Linked DNA regions of Homo sapiens: regions 1, 2, 3, 4 and 5 are each linked to region 6. The links are contacts of gene promoters, found by promoter capture Hi-C in blood cells and fetal thymus (Javierre and others, 2016). All regions are on one chromosome and are shown on one strand. Each heading gives the region's core, a stretch centred on a gene start or on the middle of the fragment in contact. The rest is flanking DNA. Distances are from core to core; before and after follow the strand shown. Region 1 has its middle 310 kb from the start of CLEC14A. Region 2 has its middle 310 kb from the start of LINC00639. Region 3 has its middle 18 kb from the start of LINC00517. Region 4 has its middle 36 kb from the start of LINC00517. Region 5 has its middle 300 kb from the start of LINC00639. Region 6 holds the start of SSTR1 (somatostatin receptor 1).

Region 1 (4,633 bases), core at 762-3,261, 360 kb after region 6:
GCAAATGTGGTGTGAGCTCCAGCTGCTGGTGTAGGAATTGGGCAGCCCCCCATCACGGGGTTAGAGCAGGGAGAGAGTTGCTGGGGAGGCATGGTTTTGACCCAGGCAGCAAGGTTTACAGCTTGGGACAGTTTTGTGCACTGGAAGCAAATTGCAGCAATAAACTAACTGTCCTGACTGGCTGCCACAGTCAAAACAAGGGAATGAACTCTGCCAGTTATGGGAGTCAGAGGAAAGCAGTACCCACTCCTGCTTGCTAGGCTGTGGTGCTAGGACTGCCCCTCCCTCCCCATGCTAAGACCTTGGTGCAGCAGCAGTTGCTCTGCTCCTTGCCCAGGCATTTCTCTAGCAGTCTGAGGACTGCTCCCTATCCCTGTCAGGGTCAGCACTTGTGCCTGCCACAGGGGGCCCAAGTGCAGGCTGGACCAGTCCAGCTTTTCCCAGCTTCACCCCCCACTCCAAGACAAAGCATGGAGAAAGACCACTGAGCATTTCATGGCCCATCCATCAAGAAAGACCACTGAGCATTTCACAGCCCATTCCATCACCAGGGACACCTGAACACTTCTACAAGTTAACAGAAGTCAGACATATATCCTACTGCTTCCATCACAGCTGGCTCTTACCTGCAAGTGTCATCTACTGATCTGTAGGTCCACCTGCACAGTCTGTTAAAACATCTGCTGGCACAGTATGCAGTGCTTAGGAAAAAGATAAGCTTCTTGTGGCCTCTGCTACCACCACCACCCAGGCCACCCTAGCTAGTCAGGAGGTCATGAGCTGTCTTACTTCCTTGGTACACCATACTATAACCAGCACTTGAGAAAGCCACCACACTAAAGGTATATAGAACCAAGAAATCATACAGGATTTTTGTCACTGAATGCACCAAGAAGCAAAGCCAAATGGCCCTACTCAAAATACATCACAGTCCCATCCTCAAGAAAAAAAGGTCCTTCCCCAATGAAAGTAAATTTAAAATAAGAAGCAGCAACAGTTTTTCCAGATGCACAGAAATCTAAATAAAGATACACAAAGCATGGCATGGTATTATGACAGCCACAAAGGAATAAAGTAATTCTCTAGCAATGAATCCTAACCAAAAAGAAATCCTCAAAATGCCATATAAGGAATTCAGAATATTGATTTTAAGGCAGGGTGTAGTGGCTCACACCTGTAATCCTAGTATTTAGGGAAGCCAAGGCAGGAGGATTGCTTGAGGCCATAAGTTCAAGGCCAGGCACAGTAATAGAGAGACCCTGTCTTTACAAAAAAAAAAAAAAATTAATTAGCCAGTCATGATGGTGCATGCCTGTAGGCCTAGCTCCTCAGGAGGCTGAAGTGGGAATATTGCTTGAGCCCAGGTGTTTGAGATTGCAGTGAGCTATAATCATGCCAATGCACTCTAGCCTTGGTAATAGAGTGAGACTCTGTCTCTAAAAACCAATACAGAGAAATTTTTTTAAAAAATGAATTCAGAATATGAATGAAAAATTTGCAAAGGAGATAGATATCTTTCCGTGTAAAGACAGAACATATAAAAATGAAAAATTAATTGAAGGAATTACAAAATATATTGAAAGCTTCAACAAAAGACTAGACCAAGCAAAAGAAAAAAATCTTATAACTTGAAAATAGGTCATTTGAGTTAACCCTGTCAGATAAAAATAAAGAAAATATAATTTTAAAAGAATAAGGCTTTCAAGATATATAGGAATACATAAAGGGACCAACTTTAGTAATCTAAACATTATTCCTGAGGAGGAGGAAAAAGAAAAAAGTTCAGAAAACATATTTAAGAAAATAATCAGCTGGGCGCAGTGGCTCACGCCTGTAATCCCAGCACTTTGGGAGGCCGAGACGGGTGAATCACATGGTTAGGAGGTCAAGACCATCCTGGCTAACACGGTGAAACCCCGTCTCTACTAAAAATACAAAAAAATTGGCCGGGCGTGGTGGTGGGTACCTGTAATCCCAGCTACTCAGGAGGCTGAGGCATGAGAATGGTGTGAACCCAGGAGGCGGAGCTTGCAGTGAGCTGAGATCGTGCCACTGCACTCCAGCCTAGGCAACAGAGCAAGACTCCATCTCAAAAAAAAAAAAGAATAAAATAAAGTAATCAACAAAAACTTTCCTAGCCTAGGAAGAAATTTAGACATTCAAATAGAGGAGGCTCAGCAATCCCCAGAAAATAAATTGCAAAATTGACTTCACCATGCCATATGGTCATTAGACTGTCTAAAGACAATATGAAGGAAAGCATTCTAAAGTCAGTAGGAAAGAAGCATTTAGTCACCTATAAAGGAAACCCCAAAAGAAGACTTCTCAGCAGAAACTTCACAAGCCAGAAAAGAATGGCGTGGGGTTTTCAAAGTGCTGAAACAAACAAACAACAACAACTAAAAAACCTGTAAATCAAGAATTTTATGTTCATCTAGATTAAGCTTTATAAATGAAGGACAAATAAAATCTTTCCCAGACAAGCAAACATTGAGATAATTCATCACCACTAGTCCAGTCCTACAAGAAATGCTCAAAGGAGTCCTAAACATGGAAAAGAAAGGTTGATATGTGCTATAATAAAAACACACAAAAATATAAAACTCAAAGTCGTATAAAACAATCACACAAAGGAGGAAGACAGAGGAATCAACTGGCAACATGAGAAAATTTTACCAAGGCACAAAGAAAAACAGAGAAAGAATTTAGAAAACAATTAGATAACAAGAATATGACAGCAAAAACAAAACTCACATATCAATATTAACCTTGAATGTAAATGGATTACATGCTTCATTTAAAAGATATATATTGACAGAATGAATTTTAAAAACATGAGCCAATAATATGCCACTTACAAGAAACTCACCTTATCTCTAGAGAGACATTTAGACTAAAAATAAAAAGACATTCTATGCAAACAGAAACCACAAGCAAGCAGCAGAGGTATACTTATGTCAGACAAAACAGACTTTAGATCACAAACAGTAAAAAAAAAATGATAAAGAAGTGTATTATATAATGATAAATGGATCAATTCAACAAGTAGATATAATAATACTAAATATATATGCACCCAACAGCTGGAGCACCCAGATTCATAAAACAAATATTACTAGACCTAATGAAAGCGATAGCTAGTAATACAATAATATTAAGGAACATCAACACCCCACTCACTGCACTAGACACTTTACTGAGACAGAAAATCAATGAAGAAACACTGGATTAAATTGGACTTTTGACCAAATAGACCTGACAGCCACTTACAGAACATGCTACCCAACAACTGCAGAATATACATTCTTTTCATCAGCCCATAGAATATTCTCCAAGATAGACAATATCTTAGGGCACAAAACAAGTCTCAAGAAATTTCTAAATATTGAAATCATATCGTCTCAAGAAATTTCTAAATATTGAAATCATATTCTAAATATCAAATCATATCAGACTATAGTGGAATAGAAGTATCAATACCAACAGGAACTCCAGAAACTACACAAATATATAGAAATAAACCAATATGCTCTTAAATAACCATTAGGTCAATAAAGAAATTAAGATGAAAATTTTTAAAATTTTTGAAATAAATGAAAATAGAAACACAATATACCAAAACCTTTGGGATGCAGCAAAAGTAGTGCTAAAGGCAGGTTTATAGTGTTAAATGCCTACATCAAAAAATAGAAGGTAGAATCTTCATTCCGAAGGCTACAGTGTATAAACATTATATAAATTTGTATGCCTTTTATTCTATTAAACAATCTGACTCATGTCGTTGATTTTTCAGTGAACCTTCAGAAGACCAAAAGGAAAGCTCTCTGTTGGCTCCCACAGTTACGGCACAGCAAGCAGGGTACCTCCAAAGCCATTCTGATCTTATGAAGGCCACAGTGAAGAGATCCCAGGATCCTAACAAGCCAGTAAAAGTTAAGAACTTATAAATCAGGCTCCTAGACTTACTCTGTGAAATCTGGTTGAATGGATGGTAAAAATGACTGTTTTGTCTCAAGGTTTTGATTAAAGGGAAAAAAGGATTTGTGTGACTAGTTTTGGGGTGTAGTGACTCTAGTGTGCTTTTGGTACTTTGTGGTATAAATATTCATATTGTTTGATTCCTTTCACTTCAGAAATAGCCTTTTTGTTGCTGTTTTCCTTGGCTTTGTCTTTCTGTGGTGTTCTGCATAAAGAGGGGAACCATACGCTAATACCCGGTCCTAGAATCCCTACAAGCCCACTGTTTGAGCTAGCCCTGTAAACTATTCAGTTTTAGTATTCTGACTACACCAGTGTCTGTTAAGACAAACATTGCTGTGGGCTCCTAAAATAAAAACCAGGCGAAAGTCTCCTCTCACCATATTTTATGTCCTTGAGAGCTTGACTGGTGACTAAGTGTGGATATTCTTTTTCTTGGTCTCTGCCATCCAGAGGGCATGATATTTCAGGTAACATCATGCAGATAGTCTGAAAAGATTGGGAGTCCAAAACACATTTTTCATACTGAACCAGCATATATCTCATATATATTGATTGATGTCTTATGTCTTCCTAAAACATATAAAACCAAGCTGTAACCCAACTATCTTAGGTACATGTTCTCAGGACCTTTTGAGACTGTGCCTCAGGCCAT
Region 2 (5,016 bases), core at 1,385-3,884, 390 kb after region 6:
CCAAATCTCTCGCATTTGTTTGTCTGTAAAGGATTTTATTTCTCCTTTGCTTATGAAGCTTAGTTTGGCTGGATATGAAATTCTGGGTTGAAATTCTTTTCTTTAAGAATGTTGAATATTTTTCCCCTCTCTCTTCTGGCTTGTAGGGTTTCTGCAGAGAAATCTGCTGTTAGTCTGATGGGCTTCCCTTTGTGGGTAACCTAACCTTTCTCTCTGGCTGCCCTTAACATTTTTTTCTTCATTTCAACCTTGGTGAATCTGACGATTATGTGACTTGGGGTTGCTCTTCTCAAGAAATATTTTTGTGGTGTTCTCTGTATTTCCTGAATTTGCATGCTGGCCTGTCTTCCTAGGTTGGGGAAGTTCTCCTGGATAATATCCTGAAGAGTGTTTTCCAACTTGGTTCCATTCTCCCCATCACTTTCAGGTACACCAGTCAAACATAGATTTGGTCTTTTCACATAGTCCCATATTTCTTGGAGGCTTTGTTTGTTCCTTTTCACTGTTTTTTCTCTAATTTAGTCTTCACACTTTATTTCATTAAGTTGATCTTCAATCTCTGATATCCTTTTTTCCACTTGATTGATTCAGCTATTGATACTTCTGTATGCTTCACAAAGTTCTCGTGCTGTGTTTTTCAGCTCCATCAGGTCATTTATGTTCTTCTCTAAACTGTTTATTCTAGTTAGCAATTTGTCTAACCTTCTTTCAAGGTTGTTAGCTTCCTTGCCTTGGGTTAGAACATGCTCCTTTAGCTCCTCCTTTAGGAGGATTTTGTTATTACCTACCCTTCTGAAGCCTACTTCTGTCAATTCATCTATCTCATTTTTCCATCCAGTTTTGCTCCCTTGCTGGTGAGGAGTTGTGATCCTTTGGATCACAAAGGCATTCTGGTTTTTGGAATTTTCAGCCTTTTTGTGCTAGTTCTTCCTCATCTTCACGGATTCATCTACCTTTGGTCTTTGATGTTGATGAGTTTCAGATGAGGTTTCTGTGTGGACATCTTTTTTGTTGATGTTGATGCTATTCTTTTCTGGTTTTTAGTTTTCCTTCTAACAACCAGGCCCCTCTTCTGCAGGTCTGCTGCTGTTTGCTGGAGGTCCACTCCAGACCCTGTTTGCCTGGGTATCACCAGTGGAGGCTGCAGAACAGCAATGATTGCTGCCTGTTCCTTCCTCTGGAAGCTTCGTCCCTGAGGTGCACCTGCCAGGTGCCAGCTGGAGCTCTCCTGTATGCAGTGTCTGTCAACCCCCGCTGGGAGGTATCTCCCAGTCAGTAGGCATGGGGGTCAGGGCACCACTTGAGGAGGCAGTCTGTCCTTTAGCAGAGCTTGAGTGCTGTGCTGGGAGATCCACTGCTCTCTTCAGAGCTGGCAGGCAGGAACATTTAAGTCTGCTGAATCTCTGCCCACAGCTGCCCCTTCCCCCAGGTCCTCTGTCCCAGGGAGATGGGAGTTTTATCCATAAGTCCCTCACTGGAACTGCTGCCTTTCTTTCAGAGATGCCCTGCTCAGAAAGGAGGAATCTAGAGAGGAAATCTGGCTACAGCGGCTGTGCCAGGCTGCAGTGGGCTCCACCCAGTTCGAACTTCCTGGCAGCTTTTTTTAAACTGTGAAGGGGAAACCACCTACTTAGGCCTCAGTAATGGCAGATGCCCCTCCCCACACTAAGCTGGAGCATCCCAGGTCGACTTCAGACTGCTGTGCTGGCAGCAAGAGTTTCAAGCCAGTGGATCTTAGCTTGCTGGGCTCCGTGAGGGTGGGATCCACTGAACTAGACCACTTGGTTCCATGGCCTCAGCCCTCTTTCCAGGGGAGTGAATGGTTCTGTCTTGCTGGCGTTCCAGGCACCACTGGGGTATGGAAAAAAAAAAAAAAAAAAAAAACTCCCGCAGCTAGCTTGATGTCTGCCCAAAGGGCTGCCTGGTTTTGTACTTGAAACCCAGGGTCCTGGTGGCGTAGGCACCTGAGGGAATCTCCTGCTCTGCGGGTTATGAAGACCATGGGAAAAGCATAGTATCTGGGCCAGAGTGCACTGTTCCTCACAGCACATACCTCATGGCTTCCCTTGGCTAGGGGAGGGAGTCCCCCAACCTCTTGTGCTTCCTGGGTGAGGGAATACCCCACCCTGCTTCGGCTCGCCCTCCGTGGGCTGCACCCACTGTCTAACCAGTCCCAATGAGATGAGCCACGTACCTCAGTTGGAAATGCAGAAATCACGCACCTTCTGCATTGACCTCACTGGGAGCTGCAGACTGTAGCTGTTCCTATTCAGCCATCTTGACAGCCATGCCCCATTATCTGAATTCTTATAGCCATGAAATTGCGTAGGGAAGCAGTCATGCCTCAAAAGTATTCATTAATGAACTTGTAAAATTAATCCTGACTCACTCAAATACCCCAACCCTATCTTAATAAATGTGTGATAAATACATAACACAACTTTATTTCAAAGTAAAATTGCAAAACTTGAAAAGATGTAAGATTTCATAGAGTAGATAAAAGTGTTGGTAACCTTTTAAGTCACCAACAAAGTTAGCTAAATGAGGATTAGCAGAGGCAGGTCAATTAAGGATGAAGGAGAAGAAAATCAACCAGAAAAAAAATGACAAGAACGGGTCTTCAAAGAAGAATCATTCAACAATCAAAGGATTTAAGATAGGCCCTTGGTAAAAGTCTTGAAATATTTTTATAAAAGTTATTATCTTTATGATTGTGTTGGAAAGTGAAATATAAACTTAGAAGATGTCATAGCATGGTATCATTTATTCTTATCAGAAAATAGCATCCCAATAATCCATTTTAAATGGATTATAATAAGTGGACTGATCTGGTGCTAATTTTCCTAGAAAACAGAAGGAAGATTTCCTGTATGTACAGCCAAACCAAAGACATAATAATGTTAGTCTTCTCATAAGCAACAATAAATGTTAAAAACAGTGGGAAAATGTCTTAAAAATTCTGAGATAAAATGACTTTAAATCAAGAATTTTATACATAAACAAACTACCAATGAAGTGTTTATCTTCCATGTATTCTTCTTCTGAAAAAATAGGCACTCCAGAAGTATTTTGAGAGAGACTGAGAACAAAAGCTAGACACACACACACACACACACACACACACACACACATACAGAGAGAGAGACAGAGAGAGAAAGAGAGAGAGAGAGAGAGAGAGAGATTGAGAGAAGAGAAGCCAAGAAAATAGAATGGAAGACATAAAGAGATGAAGAGATTTCTGCTTTAGGTATGAGGGGATAAAGTAATTCAAACCAAATCAGACTACCCTCTGGGAAAAAAATACACAAAACTTGATATAAATATGTTATTTAAAAAGTTTCTTAAAAGCATCAAAAGCATGTCAGTATAATAAGGAATTACAGGGCAGAAATCTAAGACTTGGGGAAAGGGATACCTGGGGGCATTTGCTGATCTGAAAGAGGGAGCCCATAGGTGTTTCTGAAAGCCTTTTTGAGCTAAGGGAGAATGTCAGAGTTCAGGCCCCACCCAGTACAGAGTATTGAGCCCCCAAATGGCTATGCCCTCAGAGTAGTGGTGAAACAAAAATAAACCAATCCTTGACCAGTCTGCAGTCTTCCTTTTTTTTTAACTTTTAAGTTCAGGGGTAAATGTGCAGGTTTGTTACATAGGTAAACTTGTGTCATAGAGTTTGGTTGTACAGATTATTCCCTCACCCAGGTATTAAGTCTAGTACCAATTAGTTATTTTTCCAGATCATCTCCCTCCTCCCACTCTCTACCCTCCAATAAGCCCCAGTATTTGTTGTCCCTTTCTATGTGTCCATGTGTTTTCATCATTTAGCTTCCACTTATAAGTGAGAATATATGGTATTTAACCACATATTTTGATAAATTAATGATGTATTTTGTAATTTCTCAAATGAATACTAAAAGAACAAGGAAAGAGCCTAACACTTTCAACTAAAAGATAAGGCAAGGAAATTAATGATTTTTTAAAAAATCAATCAGAACTCATGTTCTGTTCCTGTGTTAGTTTGCTAAGGATAATGGCCTCCAACTCCATCCCTGTCCAAATTTCAGTGGCCCCTAAAATTTCAAGCTGTGAAGCTTAGAGTAAGGATATTCTAGATTGTTAGCACCCCTCTTCAGAGGCAAATAATATCATCCTAAGTTTTAAATTATTTCAACAAATACTTTTTCAAACACAATGTCCAGCACTCACTGAAACATGGCAAGATACCATGGGCAAGAACAAGGAGTAATAAAAATATCCAATATAGCCACAGGCATAGTTAGACACAGTAAAACTATACTTAACATTTTCAAGGAGAAGAAAAGTAAGCTGTAAAATTTTAGTAGGAAACTGACAACTACAAAAAGTGACTGCAGATTTGAAAAAGAAACAAATTGAAATCCTAGAACTGAATAATTCATAAATAAAATTAAGAATTCAATGGGCAGAATTAACAATATATTGCACAGGTGAAGAGACGGTGAACAGAAAACAGGTCAGAAGCAACTCTCCAGAATGCAGCACACCTTCAGAAAATGGTAAAAAACACAAAAAAGAAGGTAAAAGACAGATAATTCCATGAGAGATTCTAAGTTTCAACATCTAGAAGAAGAGAAAAAGAATGGATAACAGGCAATGTTTGTGGAGATTTTGGCTTCAAATTTTCTAAAACTAATGAAAAATATCAATGATCAAATTTAGTAATACCAATAATTTGGAACCAGCAAAAATAAAGGCAAAATGAAGACATTTTTTAGGTACATGACTAATGGAAAGTTTTCACCACTAAGAGACCTGCACCCAAAAGACTTTGTAAAGGATGTTTTTAGAGAATGGGAAAATAATTGTTGAGAAAGATACAGAGGTCAAAAAATACAAATAATGAGCAAAGATATTTGGAAAGCTGTGAGTAAATCTCAATAAACATTGACAGTACAAAAAATAATAACACATAGGTTGGGAAGAATGTAAATGAAGCTAAGTGTTTTAAGCTCCTTGCTTCACCCAGGAAGGGAGCAAAAT
Region 3 (4,758 bases), core at 1,495-3,994, 290 kb before region 6:
ATAGAACAGAATAGAAAGTCTAGTGACAGACACAAATGCATGTAAGAATTTAGTAAAGTAAAAGCACCATTTAATTGCCATGGTGACAGGAAAAATTATTCAATATTTTTTTTAGAGGGGGCCAACCAGTTATTTACTTGGAAGCAAAATAATTAGGTCTAATAAAACTTTCATTACACATTAAAACAATTTCTTGAGAAATTAAAAACTTAAATGTACCGAGATAAATGATATAAATTTTAAAGAAAATATAAGTGAAAGTTTAAAAACTGGGCTATGCAAAGATTTTCTAAGCAGAAGGTAGAATACAGAAGTAAAAATGACTAAAGTTTAATAGATTTCAAATCCTAAACGTTTGAAACTTTCATAGTTCTAAACTCCATGAACAGAAGTGAGAGGTAGATAACAAAGCAGGAAAAGTGTGTTAGCTGGAGAGTCAGTGGGCAAGGACTTAAATTCTTCAATATGTAATTACACTTAGAAATCAATAAAAGAGAGGCAATGATTGGATAAGGAATATGGACAAGAAATTCTCAAAAGAAGAAATGGAAATGATAAATAAACATAAAACTATATAGTCTCACTAGTGATCAAAAAAATATATATATTTCAAGGAAATGTATATATATGTATGTATCCACACAAACACACACATATATACATACACAAAAAATAATTGGACATCATTTTTTACCTATTAAATTTCTAAAGATTAAAATTATGTTAATACTCAATGTAGATGAGGATATTTGGAAAAAAGCACTTTCATATTCTGCTGCTGGGTATGTGCAGCATTTCTGGAGTATAATTTAGAAATGCTTTTTGGTTTCTGAAATATTTCATTGAGAAAATAATAACTCAAGATATTCATCATAGAATTCTATATCAAATAATTGAATACTCATGTATTAAACTATGCATATAATTATTTACAATAACATTGTGGGATGAAATTTAATAAGATGGACAATAAATATTTAATAAATGATAGCACAATAAAGTATAAAGTAATTTAAAAAATACATTTAATTTTTAGAAACAAGAGTAGAAGGATAATTTTTTAAACATTAACGATTTACTCTGGGTCATGAGATTTGTAGGTAATTTTAGTTTTCTTCATTTTGTTAATGTATGTTATTAGAGTTACAAAGAACATTAATTTCTGGTAAAAATAAAGCCATTTATAAGAAAATGACAATACCCTTAGATTCTGTTATCCATATACCCTTTAAGTATAGAACTAGCTTATATATCCAACTTCAACTTAATTTCCAAATATCTTTGGCTTGAAAAAGATAAATCCTTTGAGTATGAGATTAGAAGGCTGATATCTCTGTGTTTATTTTTTAAAGCAGAGTTAGATTTTGGGAGAAAAATAACTCTGTCTGATTCCCTGGATTTTTGCCAACAATTTTTGGGTATGTATGTGTGTGTGTTTTGCACGTAAAATTTTAAAAATGCTTAGCTGGACAAGATGTGTTTTATTAATGACATGTAGCATAGCCAAAGTTTAATTTTTTTTTCTTTTATTTTGAGACGGAGTTTGCTCTGTCACCAGGCTGGAGCACAGTGGCGCGATCTCGGCTCACTGCAACCTTCAACTCCCTGGTTCAAGCGGTTCTCCTGCCTCAGGCTCCCAAGTAGGTGGGATTACAGGCACGAACCACCACGCCCAGCTAATTTTTGTATTTTTAGTAGAGACGGGGTTTCACCATGTTGGCCAGGATGGTCTCCATCTCCTGACCTTGTGATCTGCCTGCCTCGGCCTCCCAAAGTGGTGGGATTACAGGCGGGAGCCACCGCACCTGGCCCAAAGTTTAATTTTAAATTCATTCAGAAGTGTATTCCTGAGATACTTAAACACTAATACCAGGTTCCTAAAATATCTGCCCAGAAACTTTCAGAAATTTTAATTAATATTCCAAAGAAAAATTATTTCAAATTATTTAACCTCTCATTAAAACTCATTTTCTTTTTTATTTTATTTTATTATTATTATACTTTAAGTTTTAGGGTACATGTGCAAAATGTGCAGGTTTGTTACATGTGTATACATGTGCCATGTTGGTGTACTGCACCCATTAACTCGTCATTTAGCATTAGGTATATCTCCTAATGCTATCCCTCCCCCCTCCCCCCACCCCACAACAGTCCCTGGAGTGTGATGTTCCCCTTCCTGTGTCCATGTGTTCTCGTTGTTCAATTCCCACCTATGAGTGAGAACATGCAGTGTTTGGTTTTTTGTCCTTGCGATGGTTTGCTGAGAATGATGATTTCCAGTTTCATCCATGTCCCCACAAAGGACATAAACTCATCATTTTTTTATGGCTGCATAGTATTCCATGGTGTGTATGTGCCACATTTTTTTAATCCAGTCTATCATTGTTGGACATTTGGGTTGGTTCCAAGTCTTTGCTATTATGAATAGTGCCGCAATAAACCACGTGTGCATGTGTCTTTATAGCAGCATGATTTATAGTCCTTTGGGTATATACCCAGTAATGGGATGGCTGGGTCAAATGGTATTTCTAATTCTAGATCCCTGAGGAATTGCCACACTGTCTTCCACAATGGTTGAACTAGTTTACAGTCCCACCAACAGTGTAAAAGTGTTCCTATTTCTCCACATCCTCTCCAGCACCTGTTGTTTCCTGACTTTTTAATGATTGCCATTCTAACTGGTGTGAGATGGTATCTCATTGTGGTTTTGATTTGCGTTTCTCTGATGGCCAGTGATGGTGAGCATTTTTTCATGTGTTTTTTGGCTGCATAAATGTCTTCTTTTGAGAAGTGTCTGTTCATATCCTTTGCCCACTTTTTGATGGGGTTGTTTGTTTTTTTCTTGTAAATTTGTTTGAGTTCATTGTAGATTCTGGATATTAGCCCTTTGTCAGATGAGTAGGTTGTGAAAATTTTCTCCCATTTTGTATGTTGCCTGTTCCCAATATCCTTGATGAACATTGATGCAAAAATCCTCAATAAAATACTGGCAAACTGAATCCAGCAGCACATCAAAAACTTATCCACTATGATCAAGTGGGCTTCATCCCTTGGATGCAAGACTGGTTCAACATACACAAATCAATAAATGTAATCCAACATATAAACAGAACCAAAGACAAAAACCACATGATTATCTCAATAGATGCAGAAAAGAGCCTTTGACAAAATTCAACAACCCTTCATGCTAAAAGCTCTCAATAAATTAGGTATTGATGGGACGTATCTCAAAATAATAAGAGCTATCTATGACAACCCCACAGCCAATATCATACTGAATGGGCAAAAACTGGAAGCATTCCCTTTGAAAACTGGCACAAGACAGGGATGCCCTCTCTCACCACTCCTATTCAACATAATGTTGGAAGTTCTGGCCAGGGCAATTAGGCAAGAGAAAGAAATAAAGGGTATTCGATTAGGAAAAGAGGAAGTCAAATTGTCCCTGTTTGCAGATGACATGATTGTATATCTAGAAAACCCCATTGTCTCAGCCCAAAATCTCCTTAAGCTGATAAGCAACTTCAGCAAAGTCTCAGGATACAAAATCAATGTACAAAAATCACAAGCATTCTTATACAGCAATAACAGACAAACAGAGAGCCAAATCATGAGTGAACTCCCATTCACAATTGCTTCAAAGAGAATAAAATACCTAGGAATCCAACTTACAAGGGATGTGAAGGACCTCTTTAAGGAGAACTACAAACCACTGCTCAATGAAATAAAAGAGGATACAAACAAATGGAAGAACATTCCATGCTCATGGGTTGGAAGAATCAATATTGTGAAAATGACCATACTGCCCAAGGTAATTTATAGATTCAATGCCATCCCCATCAAGCTACCAATGACTTTCTTCACAGAATTGGAAAAAACTACTTTAAAGTTCATATGGAACCAAAAAAGAGCCCTCATTGCCAAGTCAATCCTAAGCCAAAAGAACACAGCTGGAGGCATCATGCTACCTGACTTCAAACTATACTACAAGGCTACAGTAACCAAAACAGCATGGTACTGGTACCAAAACAGAGATATAGATCAATGGAACAGAACAGAGCCCTCAGAAATAATGCCGCATATCTACAACTATCTGATCTTTGACAAACCTGAGAAAAACAAGCAATGGGGAAAGGATTCCCTATTTAATAAATGGTGCTGGGAAAACTGGCTAGCCATATGTAGAAAGCTGAAACTGGATCCCTTCCTTACACCTTATACAAAAATTAATTCAAGATGGATTAAAGACTTACATGTTAGACCTAAAACCATAAAAACCCTAGAAGAAAACCTAGGCAATACCATTCAGGACATAGGCATGGGCAAGGACTTCTTGTCTAAAACACCAAAAGCAATGGCAACAAAAGCCAAAATTGACAAATGGGATCTAATTAAACTAAAGAGCTTCTGCACAGTAAAACTCATTTTCTAAAGGTCAAAAATATGAAAACATGAAACATGAAAACAAATTTCTAGCTTCTCCAAGTTACTCTTTGTGTACCTACACAACCATGTGCCAATTCTTAGGGTCAGCCCTAGGAAAGGCTGTGAAGTACGGGACATGGTAAGAAGATGTTAGGGTCCAAAAAATTGTTCTTAGTGCCATATGTTCATAAGTGGAGAGTGACTCAGAGGGATTTCAACTCACTGTATAGCTGAGTAAGAACCTTTGGAATCAGGAAATCTGTCATCCTACTTTGGAAACTCTACCCTAAATGGATCAGGTTTAACCATGACCAAAGTCTATTGAGGCAATTCAAG
Region 4 (4,639 bases), core at 2,122-4,621, 270 kb before region 6:
CGATTTTCTTCCTTCTCTTCAGAAATTGAAGTTGTAAAATTGTTTGAGAAGTTTTATCAGTTCCTGGATGCATTTGAATAACACTAACCAGAGGACCAAGTAAACTATATAGTTTGGATGCATTTGAAAACTACATATATAGTTTGAAACTACATATATATAGTTGAAAACTACATATATATATATAAAATATATAAATGTATATATGTATATATAATGTATATATATAAATATATAAATACATTATTGTGTGTTTACTGGTCACATTATAACATATAATTTAATTATAGAATGTCTGAGGAAATTAACAAAAGGTCAAAGAAGAAAATAAATCATTCATAATGCTGTCATCTCAAAGCAGCCATTGTTAACATTTTGGTACATGTCCTTCCAAATATATATTTTAAATATTTCCAAACATAATTGTTCTAATGACATAGTGAGGTTAAAGCAAGAGTAATTATCTTAAACTTCCCTGACTTGTGCTCTCTCCAGCCTGATAAAGTGCCTAAGCTCTCCCTTATTACCATACCATGCTATTGTGGCAAGTCCAAAGCCGGTCCTATGGGCTCCTAAACAAGCATGTCTTCTGCACTCCAAGTCTACAGTGCAAAAGCACTCCATGACAGCTCTTCAGCCACCTTGTCTTTATCTTCCTTGAGAATACCTTGTCTGTGACAAGGGAACTTCTTCAGGTTCTCCCTAAACTGCAAATTCTTCAGCTAACAAAATAAACTTAATGCCCTGCAGTCCTCACTGTGGCAGAGCCATACTGTGTTTCATACCACATCTGCCGTGTCACTATCCTGGGGCCCTCAGAAGACGTGCTTGCCCTCAAGCCTAACAAAGTATTCCACAAAAATGCCTCCTTTTACCAGCACCTGCTCATTTTTTAGGACTCAAAAAATGCATAGCAACTGGGGAACAAACACTGTTCTGTTTGCTGCACCCTCTGTTTTTGACACTCCAGGCCCAGCAGAGCACATTTATCTCTGCCTATTAATGTGAGCAAACAGATTCCTTTACTGGCCCCACCAATTTAATCAGATATACTGTCAAACCTAGGCTCAAGCAGAGATCCCTATGATATGTTTGTTTTAGCTTTTTTTTTCTTTACAGCGGGAGGAAACTTAAATAGCTTTCAGTAAAAAAATAAAAATGATTTTATCAAGGTTTCCTCTTTCTCTCCAATTCTTAGTTCCATTCTCTTCAAATAGTAGGCATGATGACCCTGGTTAGCCTGAGTTCCACCTCAAAATCTTAACAATTCCATCGGAAAGAAATTTTTTTTTCCCCATTTGCTTTGACAAAAATATCAGTGAAGCGTCTGACTGTCCTGGTTTAGGACATGTGCTTATTTTTTAGCACTCACTCTAGCCCAAGGATGGCTTACTGTGATGGGCTACAGCTGTGTTGAATACTCAATTACAGCTGTGTTACCTTCCCACTCCCAAGACCTGCAGAGGTGTAGAGGTCAAGAAGAGGCCCATGATTGAGTACTCAAGGACTGAAGAATATTATGAGAATCAGAGTGGAGAAGGATACGTTTTCAAAAAGATGCTAGACAGATAATACCTGAATATCTATTATCATATATATATATTTTTTGTTGTGATCATAGAAGGTAAGCTCCCCACAAGCAGGGTTTTTGGTTGCTTTGTTCACTATTGTGTCCTCATCGTCGTGGTATATATTTTAAAAATTATTTTCACTTAAGACTGTATCATGACCATTTTCCCATGTGATTAATTTTTTTTTTTTGGTGGGGGGACGGTATCTCACTCTATCGCCCCGGCTGGAGTGCAGTGGTGCCATTTTGGCTCACTGCAAGCTCCACCTCCTGGGTTCATGCCTTTCTCCTGCCTCAGCGTCCCGAGTAGCTGGGATTACAGGCGCCCGACACCATGCCTGGCTAATTTTCTGTAATTTTAGTAGAGATGAGGTTTCACTGTGTTAGCCAGGATGGTCTCAATCTCGTGACCTTGTGATCTGCCCCGCCTCAGCCTCCCAAAGTGCTGGGATTACAGGTGTGAGCCACTGCACCAGGCTTAAATATTTTTTATAACATAATTTTAAGGACTCTACAGCATTCTATTGTTTGTAGTCTCCTACTTATTGCATCATTTTCTCCCAATTGTGCAAACCACTGTATATGTACTGTGATTTCCATCCTTTAATGTTATAAATTTCTCTTCTGATCAATGCTACCCAACTAAAAGAAACCATGCAGTGCACATTCAGTGATTTGTTTTGAGTCTCTTTGCACCTCCTTAGAAAATTGTATCAAATCATTTAAACCTCATATAAAGTTCCTGCTTTAATTTATGTAGTTGAGTACTAGATCACTCTGTGTCTTGCTTCCTAAGATGTAAAATAAGCATGATAGTACTACTCACCTCATAGGGCTGTTATCAGCATAAATGAGTATAGTATTGCCTGGCACTTAGTATGTCTAAGTGCTCAATAATTATTGGTTAAAATAACCATTATTATTGTTACCATTACATTGCCTTTCTCTAAAAGTAGGGTTAATATGTTAGTATGAGGGCACTGAGCTCAATAAGTGGAAGGGGCTAGCACTCGGAAAACAGAATCTGCAGGATATCAAATATAGATTACTACTTTTTGCAGTAATAATTGATGTATATGAAAAATTTGATTTGCTTCAATATGTTCCACAAAGTACTGGCTTTTATTTTCATGATGCTGGGCTCTTCTGTATCCTGACCATTCTGTATTTGTGTTCTTTTATGGGGGACACCGTCTCTCTTTCAGTCACATTTAATATTCAGTTTTTCTAGTGGTAGGAGGAGCATTTTAAAATGATTTCTATGAGTCCTTATTAGAAATGAACTCCCTACTGTGGCATCATAAGGTTTCATGTGTAAAACCATTAAACTTGAGAGCTGGAGCTGATGAGGCCTACCATCTAAGCACTTTATGTTCAATAACATTTGGCCTTCTAAAGCACTGCATAATTAGAATAATATTTTTTACCAGATTAGGAAGTCGTCACTGCCTGTGCAGTTGCAGGAGGGAGAACAAGTTTGGAAATCAACAATCCAGACTTCCAAGCTTCCACTCTTCATTCATTTCACCTCACAGGCTAGTCACAACACAAAGCGATGGTCACTTGGAGTCATGGATCCAATATGCACACAGTTGTGGAAGAAATGCAGAGACAATTTAATGTGTTTTCAATGAAGAATTGGCAGTTGTGGAAGGAATACTGCAGGTCCTCTTCTACTCTCAAAGGTGAGCTCCTCAAGGGCAGTGGTCTTGTCTGGCATGTTTTTGTATCGCCAGTGCCTGTGCAACCATAACCAAATGCCTCCTACTGGCCTGGATCTGTGGCAGGAGACTTACCTGATCTCATTGAATTCCCATAACAGCCTGAGGGGCTGGCAGCAGTAGACTCGTTTAAGAACCAGAGTGAGAAAACTGTGCAATTAAGTAGAGTAGCAGGGTGAGAAAACAGGTTCAGGTCTGTCTGCCACAAAACCCGTGTCTGGGAGGCATGTGACGGGGAGTCGGGAAGTGGACTCTGGAGCTGAACTATCTGACCTCCAACCCTGGCTCTGCCACTCACTGGCTGTGTCACTTAATCTCTCTGTCTCCAGTCCTACAATGTAAAATGAGAATGGTAACGATACTTGCCTCAAAGGCTATAAGCTTAAATGACTTTATAGTACTGCCTGGCATATACTATGTGTTCAGCAAATATCAGCAAAAATAACCATTATTGTTATGGTTGTTTTTGTTATTGTTACACTGCCCTTCTCTAAGAGAGAGTTTTAAATTTTGGCATTAGGGCACTGGGCTCAATAAATGATTAATAACATCGATTTTCTCTACAGAGAAGATCTTGGAATCTAATACATCTAATTTAATTTTTCCCTTAAATAATGGTTAGATAAGTATTAAAATGTGAATCTCCTTTTCTTTAAAGCAAAGGAGAAATGTTTACTTATTCCACTTCTTGCTTGACCAAATTATTTTTGTGGAATATTTTTGTTTACTTATGATCAAGAGGCACATGGTGTTGATCATTTCTTTTAATGTTTGCAACTCTTCTGTGGGTGTGGTTGGGTATTAAGAGGATGTGGGGCAGTGGAAGAATTTGTTTTGCTTATACTGTTTCTTTCATTAGAAAAACATTTGTTTTTTAGAAATGCACAGATATTTTGTACATTTCAAAGACATGAAAGGTAATCTTTATATTCAGAAAAAGAATATTGGAAAGATATCATAGGCAGCTGTTGCTTTTAAAAATGAATTTAAACAATTTGTTGGAGATCCTGGAAATATTTATATTGTGGATGATCTTGCCTCTCACTCAGCAAACTTGAAGTTCAGCTAGTTTTAATTGTGTATTCACTTCATTATTCAGTTGTCTATAAAATACTATACCATATATATTTACTATAACCAGCACAAATGTACAGTGTAAAATTTGATAAATTTTGACATAGGTATGCACCCATGAAACCATCACCGTAATTGATATATAGTCAACCCTCAGTATTTGTGAGGGATTGTTTCCAGGACCTCCTGCATACCAAAATCTGTGGATGCTCAAGTCCTTGGCATAGGACTTGGCATAGTCTTTGCCTACAACCTAACTCATATCCACTTCTAT
Region 5 (4,443 bases), core at 364-2,863, 410 kb after region 6:
ACTGGGGGACCTGCATATGGGCCTGCCTGGTCTGGCACCACCTATCTTGGTTCCCCCATTCTGCGACTGAGCAGAGAGCTCAGATCACTGAACATTCCACAGATCAGCCCATTGTGTGAAGAAACAGAGAGTTTCTCCCAGTACACAAAGATCAAGTGTGTACCCATCTGCATTGCCTGCATCCAGCTTTTACCCATAAGCACCACCTATTGGACTGGAGGTTGAACTGCACAACACCAAAGAAAATCTGACATAAGTGCACAGCACTGGGGAATGAGATACACCTCCTGAGACTCTCACTACCCTTGCACCACAGGAGGCAGTGAGCCTGTTCACACACCAAGTACATCTCTACCCAACCAGCATTTGGAAAAGTAACCATAAAAAGGCTATCTATAACAAAAGAACATATACAGACCCTTTGCCACTGAAAGCACCCAGAACCAAAGGCAAAGGACCCTACACAACATACATTATATCATCCAAACCTCTGAGTTTATAGGTATTCGAGAGGGAGAAGAAAAAGTTTAAAGTGTGGAAAACTTATTTGAGGAAATAATTCAAAAAACTTCCCTGGTTTTGGGAGACATTTAGACATCCATACACAAGAAGCTCAGAAAATTTCTGGAAGGTACATTGCAAGAAGAACCTCACCAAGGCATATAGTCATCATACTATCCAAAGTCAGTATGAAGGAAAAATACCCAAGAGTGGCAAGAAAAGTATCTAATCACCTATAAAGAAAATCCCAACAGACTAACAGTGGACTTCTCAGCAGAAATCCCACAAGCCTGAAGAGACTGGGAGCATATTTTTAGTCTCCTTAGAAAAGAAGTGTCAGTCAAGATTTTTTTTTCCAGTTTTTTTCTTTTTCTTTTTTTTTTTTTGGTTTGTTTGTTTGTTTGCAGAGACAGGGTCTCACTTTGTTGCCCAGGCTGGTCTTGAACTCCTTGCTTCAAGTAATGTTCCTGCCTTGGCCACCAAAAGTGCTGGGATTACAGGCATGAGACACTATGCCTAGCTAAGAATTTTATATCCTACCAAATCAAGCTTCATAAGTTAAGGAAAATAAATTCTTTCTCAGACAAACAAATGCTAAGGACATTCACTGATACTAGAATGACCCAACAAGAAAAGCCCAAAGGAGTTCTAAACATGAAAACTAAAGGATGATACTTGCCATCATAAAAGGACATATAAGTACAAAGCTCATAATCCTAGAAAGCATTGAAACTCCAACACAACAGGCTAAAAACTTTATGACAGGTACAAAACCTCACATATCAATATTAATCTTGAATCCAAATAACCTAAATATTCTACACAAAAGCTACAAAGTGGCAAATTGTATTTAAAGACAGACACAGACTCAAAACAAAGGGGTGTGTGATGGTTAACACTGAGTGTCAACTTGATTGGATCGAAGGATGCAAAGTATTGATCCTGGGTGTGTCTGTGAGGGTGTTGCCAAAGGAGATTAACATTTGAGTCAGTCGAGTGGGAAGGGCAGATCCACCCTTAATTTGGGTGGGCACAATCTACTCAGCTGCCAGCATGGCCAGAATAAAAATTGGGCAAAAAAAAAAAACAGAAAAGGAGCTTGTGCAGGAATCCCACATTTTTAGAACCATCAGATCTCGTGAGACTCATTCACTATTATAAGAACAATGCAGGAAAGACACACCCCCATAACATGATCGCCTCCCATAACACGAGAGAATCGTGGGAGTTACAATTCAAGATGAGATTTGGCTGGGGACAAGCCAAATCATATCAGGGTGGAGAAAGATATATGATGTAAAAGGAAAACAAAAGGAGCAGGAATAACCATTCTTACATCAGATTAACACACACTTGAAACCAATAATGTTAAAAAGAAGGCAAAAAATGTAGTATATAATAATAAAGTCTTCAATAAAACAAGATTTAACTATCCTTAATATGTATGTACTCAATACTGGAGCACCCAGATTCATAAAACAAATACTACTAGATCTAAGAAAACAGATTGATAGCAATACAATAATAGTGGGGAACTTCGATAACCCACTGACATCACTAGACAGATCACTGAGTCCAAAAATCAACAAAGAAACTCTGGACTTAAGCCAGACTGTAGACCAACTGGGCCTAGTAGACATTTCTAGAACATTTCATCCAATAATCACAGAATATGCAAGCTTCTCACCTACATATGGAACATTCTCCAAAATCAGCCATATGCTTGGCCATAAAGCAAATCTCAATAAGTTCAAAAAAAAATCAAATTATATCAAGTAGCATCTCAGACAACAGTGGAATAAAATTAGAAATCAATGCCAAGAGGAACTCTCAAAACTACACAAGTACTTGAAAACTAAACAACTTGCTCCTAAATAACCTTTGAGTAAACAATGAAATTAAGGCAGAAATCAAAAAATTTTCTGAAACAAATCAAAATAAAGACACAACATAAAAAAACCTCTGGGACACAGCAAAAACAATGCTAAAAGTAAAGTTTATAGTATTAAATGCCTACAGCAAAAAGACCGACATATCTCAAATTAACTACCTAATCTTGTTGACATAGTTTGGCTCTGTATCCCCACCCAAATCTCACCTTGCAGCTCCCATAATTCCCATGTGTTGTGGGAGGGATCCGATGGAAGATAACTGAATCATGGGGGCGGGTCTTGCCAGTGCTGCTTTTATGATAATGGATAAGTCTTGCAACATTTGATGGCTTAAAAAAATGGGAATTTGCCTGCACAAGTTCTGCCATCCATGTAAGATGTTACTTGCCTCTCCTTGTCTTCCACCATGATTATGAGGCCTCCCCAGCCACACGGAACTGTGAGTTCTCCATTAAAACTCTTTCATTTGTAAATTGGCCAGTTTCAGGTATGTCTTTATAGGCAGCATAAAAATGGACTAATACAGTAAATTGGTATCAGTAGAGTGGGGTGCTGCTGAAAAGATATCAAAAATATGGAAGCAACTTTGGAGCTGGGTAACAGGCAGGGGTTGAAACAGTTTGGAGGGCTCAGAAGAAGACAGGAAAACATGGGAGAGTTTGGAACTTCCTAGAGACTTGTTGAATGGCTTTGACCTAAATGCTCATAATGATATGGACAATGGAATCCAGGCTGAGGTAGTATCAGATGAAGATGAACTTTTTAGGATCTGGAGCAAAGGTAACTCTTGTTATGTTTTAGCAAAGAGACTGGTGGCATTTTGCCCCCGCCCTAGAGATTTGTGGAACTTTGAACTTGAGAGAGATGATTTAGGGTATATGGTGGAAGAAATTTCTAAGCAGCATTCAAGATGTGACTTGGGTGCTGTTAAAGGCATTCAGTTTGATAAGGGAAGCAGAACACAAAAGTTCAGAAAATTTGCAGCGTGACAATGTGATAGAAAAGAAAAACCCATTTTCTGAGGAGAAATTCAAGCCAGCTGCAGAAATTTGCACAAGTAATGAGGAGCTGAATGTTAATCCCCAGGACAATGGGGAAAATGTCTCCAGAGCATGTCAGAGGTCTTCATGGCAGCCCCTCCCATCACAGGCCCAGAGGCCTAGGAGAAAATGATTTTGTGGGCCAGGCCCAGGGTCCCCATGCTGTGTGCAGCCTGGGGATTTAGTGCCCTGCGTCCCAGATGCTCCAGCCTCGGCTGAAAGGGACCAACCTAGAGCTCCAGCCATGGCTTCAGAGAATTCAAGCCCCTAGCCTTGGTAGCTTCCATGGGGTGTTGAGTCTGTGAGTGCACAGAATTCAAGAATTGGGGCTTGGGAACCTCTACCTAGATTTCAGAAGATGTATGGAAATACCTGGATGCCCAGGCAGAAGTTTTCTGTGGGGTGGGGTTCTCATGGAGAACCTCTGCTAAGGCAGTGAGAAAGGGAAATGTGGGGTTGGAGCCCCCACACAGAGTTCTTACTGGGGCACCACCTAGTGGAGCTGTGAGAAGAAGGCCATCGTCCTCCAGACCCCAGAATGGTAGATCCACCAATAGCTTGCACCGTTTGCCTGGAAAAGCCACAGACATGCAATGCCAGACCATGAAAGCATCCAGGAGGGAGGCTGTAACTGGCAAAACAGCAGGGGAGGAGCTGCCTAAGACCTTGGGAACCCACCTTTTGCCTCAGCGTGACCTGTATATGAGACATGGAGTCAAAGGAGATCATTTTGGAGCTTTAAGACTTGACTGCATCGCTGGATTTTTGACTTGCATGAGGCCTGTAGCCTCTTTCTTTTGGTCAATTTCTCCCACTTGGAATAGCTGGATTTACCCAATGCCTGTACCCCCATTGTATCTAAGAACTAACTAACTTGCTTTTGATTTTGTAGGCTCATAGGCGGAAGGGACTTGCCTTATCTCAGATGAAACTTTGGAATGTGGACTTTTGAGTTAATGCTGAAATGAGTTAAGACTTTGGGGGACTGTTGGGAAGGCATGACTGGTTGT
Region 6 (5,087 bases), core at 130-2,629:
AATTTTTTTCTGAAGTTGCTGCATCATTTTTTATTCCCACCAGCAATGTATGAGTGTTCTAATTTCTCCACATTCTCACTAACGTTTATTTTTTGTTTTTAAAAATGTTCTTATAGCCATCCTAGTGGGTGAAAAGTGGCATCTCAAAAAAATAAAAATAAAAAGCATTCTCACGTCAGGTCTTAAGTTTTCTTCTTTTGTATATGAGGCCACAAAATTGAGAGAAATTTTCCCTAAGATGAGCTGAAAGTGAATTTAATGAAATTCTGAACAACAGAGCTGTTTTTCACTGACTCCCATCACACACTTCCCAAAGAGCAACCATGATCAAAGCCAAGGCATCTAAATAATGACTGTTGAAATCCAAGCTCCCAGAGGTACAGATAGTCAGGTGTCTTTAGTCAGTGATTGGCAGAGGCATCTAAGGCATTATATGAGGCTTGGCTAGTAAAATGCTCTTCTGGGATTCTGGGACAATACCCACTCTCTTTTCTTTTAACTTAATGAACATTTATTTTCTCTCCATATGTGCTGTATTTGTAAAGGAAAAATAAATATAACTAAACACCAATTGTACATTCCACTTTAAAGAAGGCAATTTGTTCAGGTAAAATAATGGGTTAAAACAGTTTCAGCCGTATGAAATTTCAAATTCCATCCTAGCACATTCCTCATTAATAATTGCACACATTCCTATGAAAGTCTGTCATTTATTTTAGTCTTTGATTGCTATCATCAACACACTACAGAAGTTATTCTTTCCTGTTCAAGACAATTAGTTTTGGGAACTAAAACACATGCAGTATATGTAAGTGATTACCTGGATAAAGCAACAGGGCATTAGGAAATATACTTTTTTGTTTTTAATTTCTGCATCCATTTCTTCATTCTGGACCGGTACAGATAGCCTCCATGAGGAGTTTAGCCTCTCCTTGGAGTAAACTCTACTGAGAGGAGGAAAACTGAGACTTACAGTACAGCGGGCACAGCCTGGTTGAGGAGAAGGAGAAACTAAGGAAAAACTGGAGACAGCAAAGCTTGAAGGAGGCAGAGCACTAAGCTGCTGCGGGTCACTCTTCCTGTGAACAGGCTAGTTTCAAATAAAGGCTTGCAGGGATCTTACCGAGCAAAGCAACGTTTATGAAAAGGAACAGGGAAGTTGCATGGAGTGTGATTCTTCCTTCCACAGGAACAGTTGGAAAGCCAAAGAGACCCTAGAGTAAGAATGGTGGTAAGTCCCAGGGTTCGTTTAAAATCCTGATAACGGAACATACATTCTTTCTTACGGGAAAACCGTTTTGATTCTTAAATGAAGTCAGTGAGCTTCAGGCTTGCCTACATTGATATCTCCTAATGGTTTGGGCACGTGACCCAGAGCCAGCTCACAAATCAAGCCTCAGAAAGAGCTGACATCCTAGCTCTTCCCGGAAAAACTCGAATGTCGCCCTGCCGTTCCTGGGGTTGGTGACAGGTCTGGTCATCGCACGGCGGCAGCTCCTCACCTGGATTTAGAAGAGCTGGCGTCCCCGCCCGCCCAAGCCTTTAAACTCTCGTCTGCCAGAACCCGCCAACTCTCCAGGGTACAAAGTACAGCAGGGACGCGGGTGGAGCCCTTCCAAGCGGCGCAGCCTTATCTTTCCCGAGTGAACACCTAGGTGGATTCCCAACACCGCGCCTGGCACGTTTCTGGAGGGAGTCTCAAGCTCCTCCAGAGCTCCCAGCTGCGCGTCCTCGTTTCTGCAGTCGATATTCCTGTGGGAGACACGGGGGGCTCTGAGCGCTACGAGCTTTATTAAGAGATTTGCGAATGGTTCACTCAGGTCCCTGAACACTCCCAATAGCCTAAGCTGCCTGCTGTGTTATAGCGCAGAAGCCCCTAACGCACGGTGGTTGTCCTTTCTTCTCATAACGCTCGCAGCTTAGGGCCAGTTTCCGCGATTCTAAGAGTAATTGCGTGGGCACCTGTGCTGGGGCCAGGCGCAAAGAAGGGAGTTGGTCTGCGCGAAGATCGTCAACCTGCTAACAGACCGCACATGCACTTTGCACCGACCATCTACGTCTCAGTCTGGAGGTTGCGCACTTTGGGTAAGGAGGGCCCGGAACTTCCCTGGCGGGTCTGAGCTGCAAGGCAAGCGAGGGTGGGAAGAGGGAATTTAGGGTTCTGGACTGCGGGACGGGAGAGAAGCTGGGGTCTCCAGAGAAAAGGGCAGCAATGGAGGGAAACTGAGATGAACTCCAGACATCCATGTTCATGGATCCGTTTGAGTCTTTGCTTTGGGTAGGAGAGGAGTGGAATGAGACAGAATCTATACCTTTGGTTCCCACCCGCCCTCCAGTAAGGCCGAGGAACTCTCTTGGTTCCTCTGAGAGCAAGAGGCAGATGGTGCTGCGAGGGAACCCCGGAAGGAGCCACTAAAGTTGAGCAGAGTGCAGGACTGGGAAGGAAAAAAATGGGGGGCGGGGGGGACAAGCCACCTATGTGCTCTCCTCCCTTTCTCCACCCCACCCCCTTTTTTCGTAGCTGCTGACGCGCTGGTGGTGCCTATTAATCATTTACCAGTCCAGAGCCGCGCCAGTTAATGGCTGTGCCGTGCGGTGCTCCCACATCCTGGCCTCTCCTCTCCACGGTCGCCTGTGCCCGGGCACCCCGGAGCTGCAAACTGCAGAGCCCAGGCAACCGCTGGGCTGTGCGCCCCGCCGGCGCCGGTAGGAGCCGCGCTCCCCGCAGCGGTTGCGCTCTACCCGGAGGCGCTGGGCGGCTGTGGGCTGCAGGCAAGCGGTCGGGTGGGGAGGGAGGGCGCAGGCGGCGGGTGCGCGAGGAGAAAGCCCCAGCCCTGGCAGCCCCACTGGCCCCCCTCAGCTGGGATGTTCCCCAATGGCACCGCCTCCTCTCCTTCCTCCTCTCCTAGCCCCAGCCCGGGCAGCTGCGGCGAAGGCGGCGGCAGCAGGGGCCCCGGGGCCGGCGCTGCGGACGGCATGGAGGAGCCAGGGCGAAATGCGTCCCAGAACGGGACCTTGAGCGAGGGCCAGGGCAGCGCCATCCTGATCTCTTTCATCTACTCCGTGGTGTGCCTGGTGGGGCTGTGTGGGAACTCTATGGTCATCTACGTGATCCTGCGCTATGCCAAGATGAAGACGGCCACCAACATCTACATCCTAAATCTGGCCATTGCTGATGAGCTGCTCATGCTCAGCGTGCCCTTCCTAGTCACCTCCACGTTGTTGCGCCACTGGCCCTTCGGTGCGCTGCTCTGCCGCCTCGTGCTCAGCGTGGACGCGGTCAACATGTTCACCAGCATCTACTGTCTGACTGTGCTCAGCGTGGACCGCTACGTGGCCGTGGTGCATCCCATCAAGGCGGCCCGCTACCGCCGGCCCACCGTGGCCAAGGTAGTAAACCTGGGCGTGTGGGTGCTATCGCTGCTCGTCATCCTGCCCATCGTGGTCTTCTCTCGCACCGCGGCCAACAGCGACGGCACGGTGGCTTGCAACATGCTCATGCCAGAGCCCGCTCAACGCTGGCTGGTGGGCTTCGTGTTGTACACATTTCTCATGGGCTTCCTGCTGCCCGTGGGGGCTATCTGCCTGTGCTACGTGCTCATCATTGCTAAGATGCGCATGGTGGCCCTCAAGGCCGGCTGGCAGCAGCGCAAGCGCTCGGAGCGCAAGATCACCTTAATGGTGATGATGGTGGTGATGGTGTTTGTCATCTGCTGGATGCCTTTCTACGTGGTGCAGCTGGTCAACGTGTTTGCTGAGCAGGACGACGCCACGGTGAGTCAGCTGTCGGTCATCCTCGGCTATGCCAACAGCTGCGCCAACCCCATCCTCTATGGCTTTCTCTCAGACAACTTCAAGCGCTCTTTCCAACGCATCCTATGCCTCAGCTGGATGGACAACGCCGCGGAGGAGCCGGTTGACTATTACGCCACCGCGCTCAAGAGCCGTGCCTACAGTGTGGAAGACTTCCAACCTGAGAACCTGGAGTCCGGCGGCGTCTTCCGTAATGGCACCTGCACGTCCCGGATCACGACGCTCTGAGCCCGGGCCACGCAGGGGCTCTGAGCCCGGGCCACGCAGGGGCCCTGAGCCAAAAGAGGGGGAGAATGAGAAGGGAAGGCCGGGTGCGAAAGGGACGGTATCCAGGGCGCCAGGGTGCTGTCGGGATAACGTGGGGCTAGGACACTGACAGCCTTTGATGGAGGAACCCAAGAAAGGCGCGCGACAATGGTAGAAGTGAGAGCTTTGCTTATAAACTGGGAAGGCTTTCAGGCTACCTTTTTCTGGGTCTCCCACTTTCTGTTCCTTCCTCCACTGCGCTTACTCCTCTGACCCTCCTTCTATTTTCCCTACCCTGCAACTTCTATCCTTTCTTCCGCACCGTCCCGCCAGTGCAGATCACGAACTCATTAACAACTCATTCTGATCCTCAGCCCCTCCAGTCGTTATTTCTGTTTGTTTAAGCTGAGCCACGGATACCGCCACGGGTTTCCCTCGGCGTTAGTCCCTAGCCGCGCGGGGCCGCTGTCCAGGTTCTGTCTGGTGCCCCTACTGGAGTCCCGGGAATGACCGCTCTCCCTTTGCGCAGCCCTACCTTAAGGAAAGTTGGACTTGAGAAAGATCTAAGCAGCTGGTCTTTTCTCCTACTCTTGGGTGAAGGTGCATCTTTCCCTGCCCTCCCCTGTCCCCCTCTCGCCGCCCGCCCGCCACCACCACTCTCACTCCACCCAGAGTAGAGCCAGGTGCTTAGTAAAATAGGTCCCGCGCTTCGAACTCCAGGCTTTCTGGAGTTCCCACCCAAGCCCTCCTTTGGAGCAAAGAAGGAGCTGAGAACAAGCCGAATGAGGAGTTTTTATAAGATTGCGGGGTCGGAGTGTGGGCGCGTAATAGGAATCACCCTCCTACTGCGCGTTTTCAAAGACCAAGCGCTGGGCGCTCCCGGGCCGCGCGTCTGCGTTAGGCAGGGCAGGGTAGTGCAGGGCACACCTTCCCCGGGGTTCGGGGTTCGGGGTTCGGTTGCAGGGCTGCAGCCCGCCTTGGCTTTCTCCCTCACCCAAGTTTCCGGAGGAGCCGACCTAAAAGTAACA

Evidence for each region. The method cuts DNA at HindIII sites, captures the fragments that hold promoters and counts their contacts. A CHiCAGO score of 5 or more calls a contact.
Region 1: a fragment that was not itself captured here is called in contact with the fragment with the promoter of SSTR1 in region 6 in 1 of 17 cell types (endothelial precursors); the score reaches 6.0 in endothelial precursors.
Region 2: a fragment that was not itself captured here is called in contact with the fragment with the promoter of SSTR1 in region 6 in 1 of 17 cell types (endothelial precursors); the score reaches 5.5 in endothelial precursors.
Region 3: a contact is called between a fragment that was not itself captured here and the fragment with the promoter of SSTR1 in region 6, in 2 of 17 cell types (neutrophils and naive CD8 T cells). The highest score is 6.9, in neutrophils.
Region 4: a fragment that was not itself captured here is called in contact with the fragment with the promoter of SSTR1 in region 6 in 2 of 17 cell types (non-activated CD4 T cells and neutrophils); the score reaches 5.8 in non-activated CD4 T cells.
Region 5: a fragment that was not itself captured here is called in contact with the fragment with the promoter of SSTR1 in region 6 in 1 of 17 cell types (endothelial precursors); the score reaches 5.9 in endothelial precursors.

The regions. Positions count from the first base shown.
Region 1 is chr14:38,561,487-38,566,119 of GRCh38, forward strand. No RefSeq gene overlaps it. Among named protein-coding and RNA genes, the nearest start is that of CLEC14A, 310 kb to the left of the region's middle. The HindIII fragment of the contact is 861 bases long and covers 1,582-2,442 here.
Region 2 is chr14:38,600,005-38,605,020 of GRCh38, forward strand. No RefSeq gene overlaps it. Among named protein-coding and RNA genes, the nearest start is that of LINC00639, 310 kb to the right of the region's middle. The HindIII fragment of the contact is 2,904 bases long and covers 1,183-4,086 here.
Region 3 is chr14:37,918,064-37,922,821 of GRCh38, forward strand. No RefSeq gene overlaps it. Among named protein-coding and RNA genes, the nearest start is that of LINC00517, 18 kb to the left of the region's middle. The HindIII fragment of the contact is 8,978 bases long and covers 1-4,758 here.
Region 4 is chr14:37,936,305-37,940,943 of GRCh38, forward strand. No RefSeq gene overlaps it. Among named protein-coding and RNA genes, the nearest start is that of LINC00517, 36 kb to the left of the region's middle. The HindIII fragment of the contact is 597 bases long and covers 3,074-3,670 here.
Region 5 is chr14:38,618,508-38,622,950 of GRCh38, forward strand. No RefSeq gene overlaps it. Among named protein-coding and RNA genes, the nearest start is that of LINC00639, 300 kb to the right of the region's middle. The HindIII fragment of the contact is 1,130 bases long and covers 1,049-2,178 here.
Region 6 is chr14:38,206,525-38,211,611 of GRCh38, forward strand. SSTR1 (somatostatin receptor 1) reads left to right here and starts at 1,380. Exons shown (of 3, transcript NM_001049.3): 1 at 1,380-1,580; 2 at 1,919-2,085; 3 at 2,522-5,087. The coding sequence starts at 2,866. The coding sequence ends at 4,041. It overlaps LOC124903303 (a long non-coding RNA gene), which reads right to left and starts at 2,763. Exons shown (of 2, transcript XR_007064117.1): 1 at 2,558-2,763; 2 at 691-1,752. RefSeq lists enhancers at 1,182-1,843, 2,827-3,530, 3,531-4,233. The HindIII fragment of the contact is 9,392 bases long and covers 1,036-5,087 here.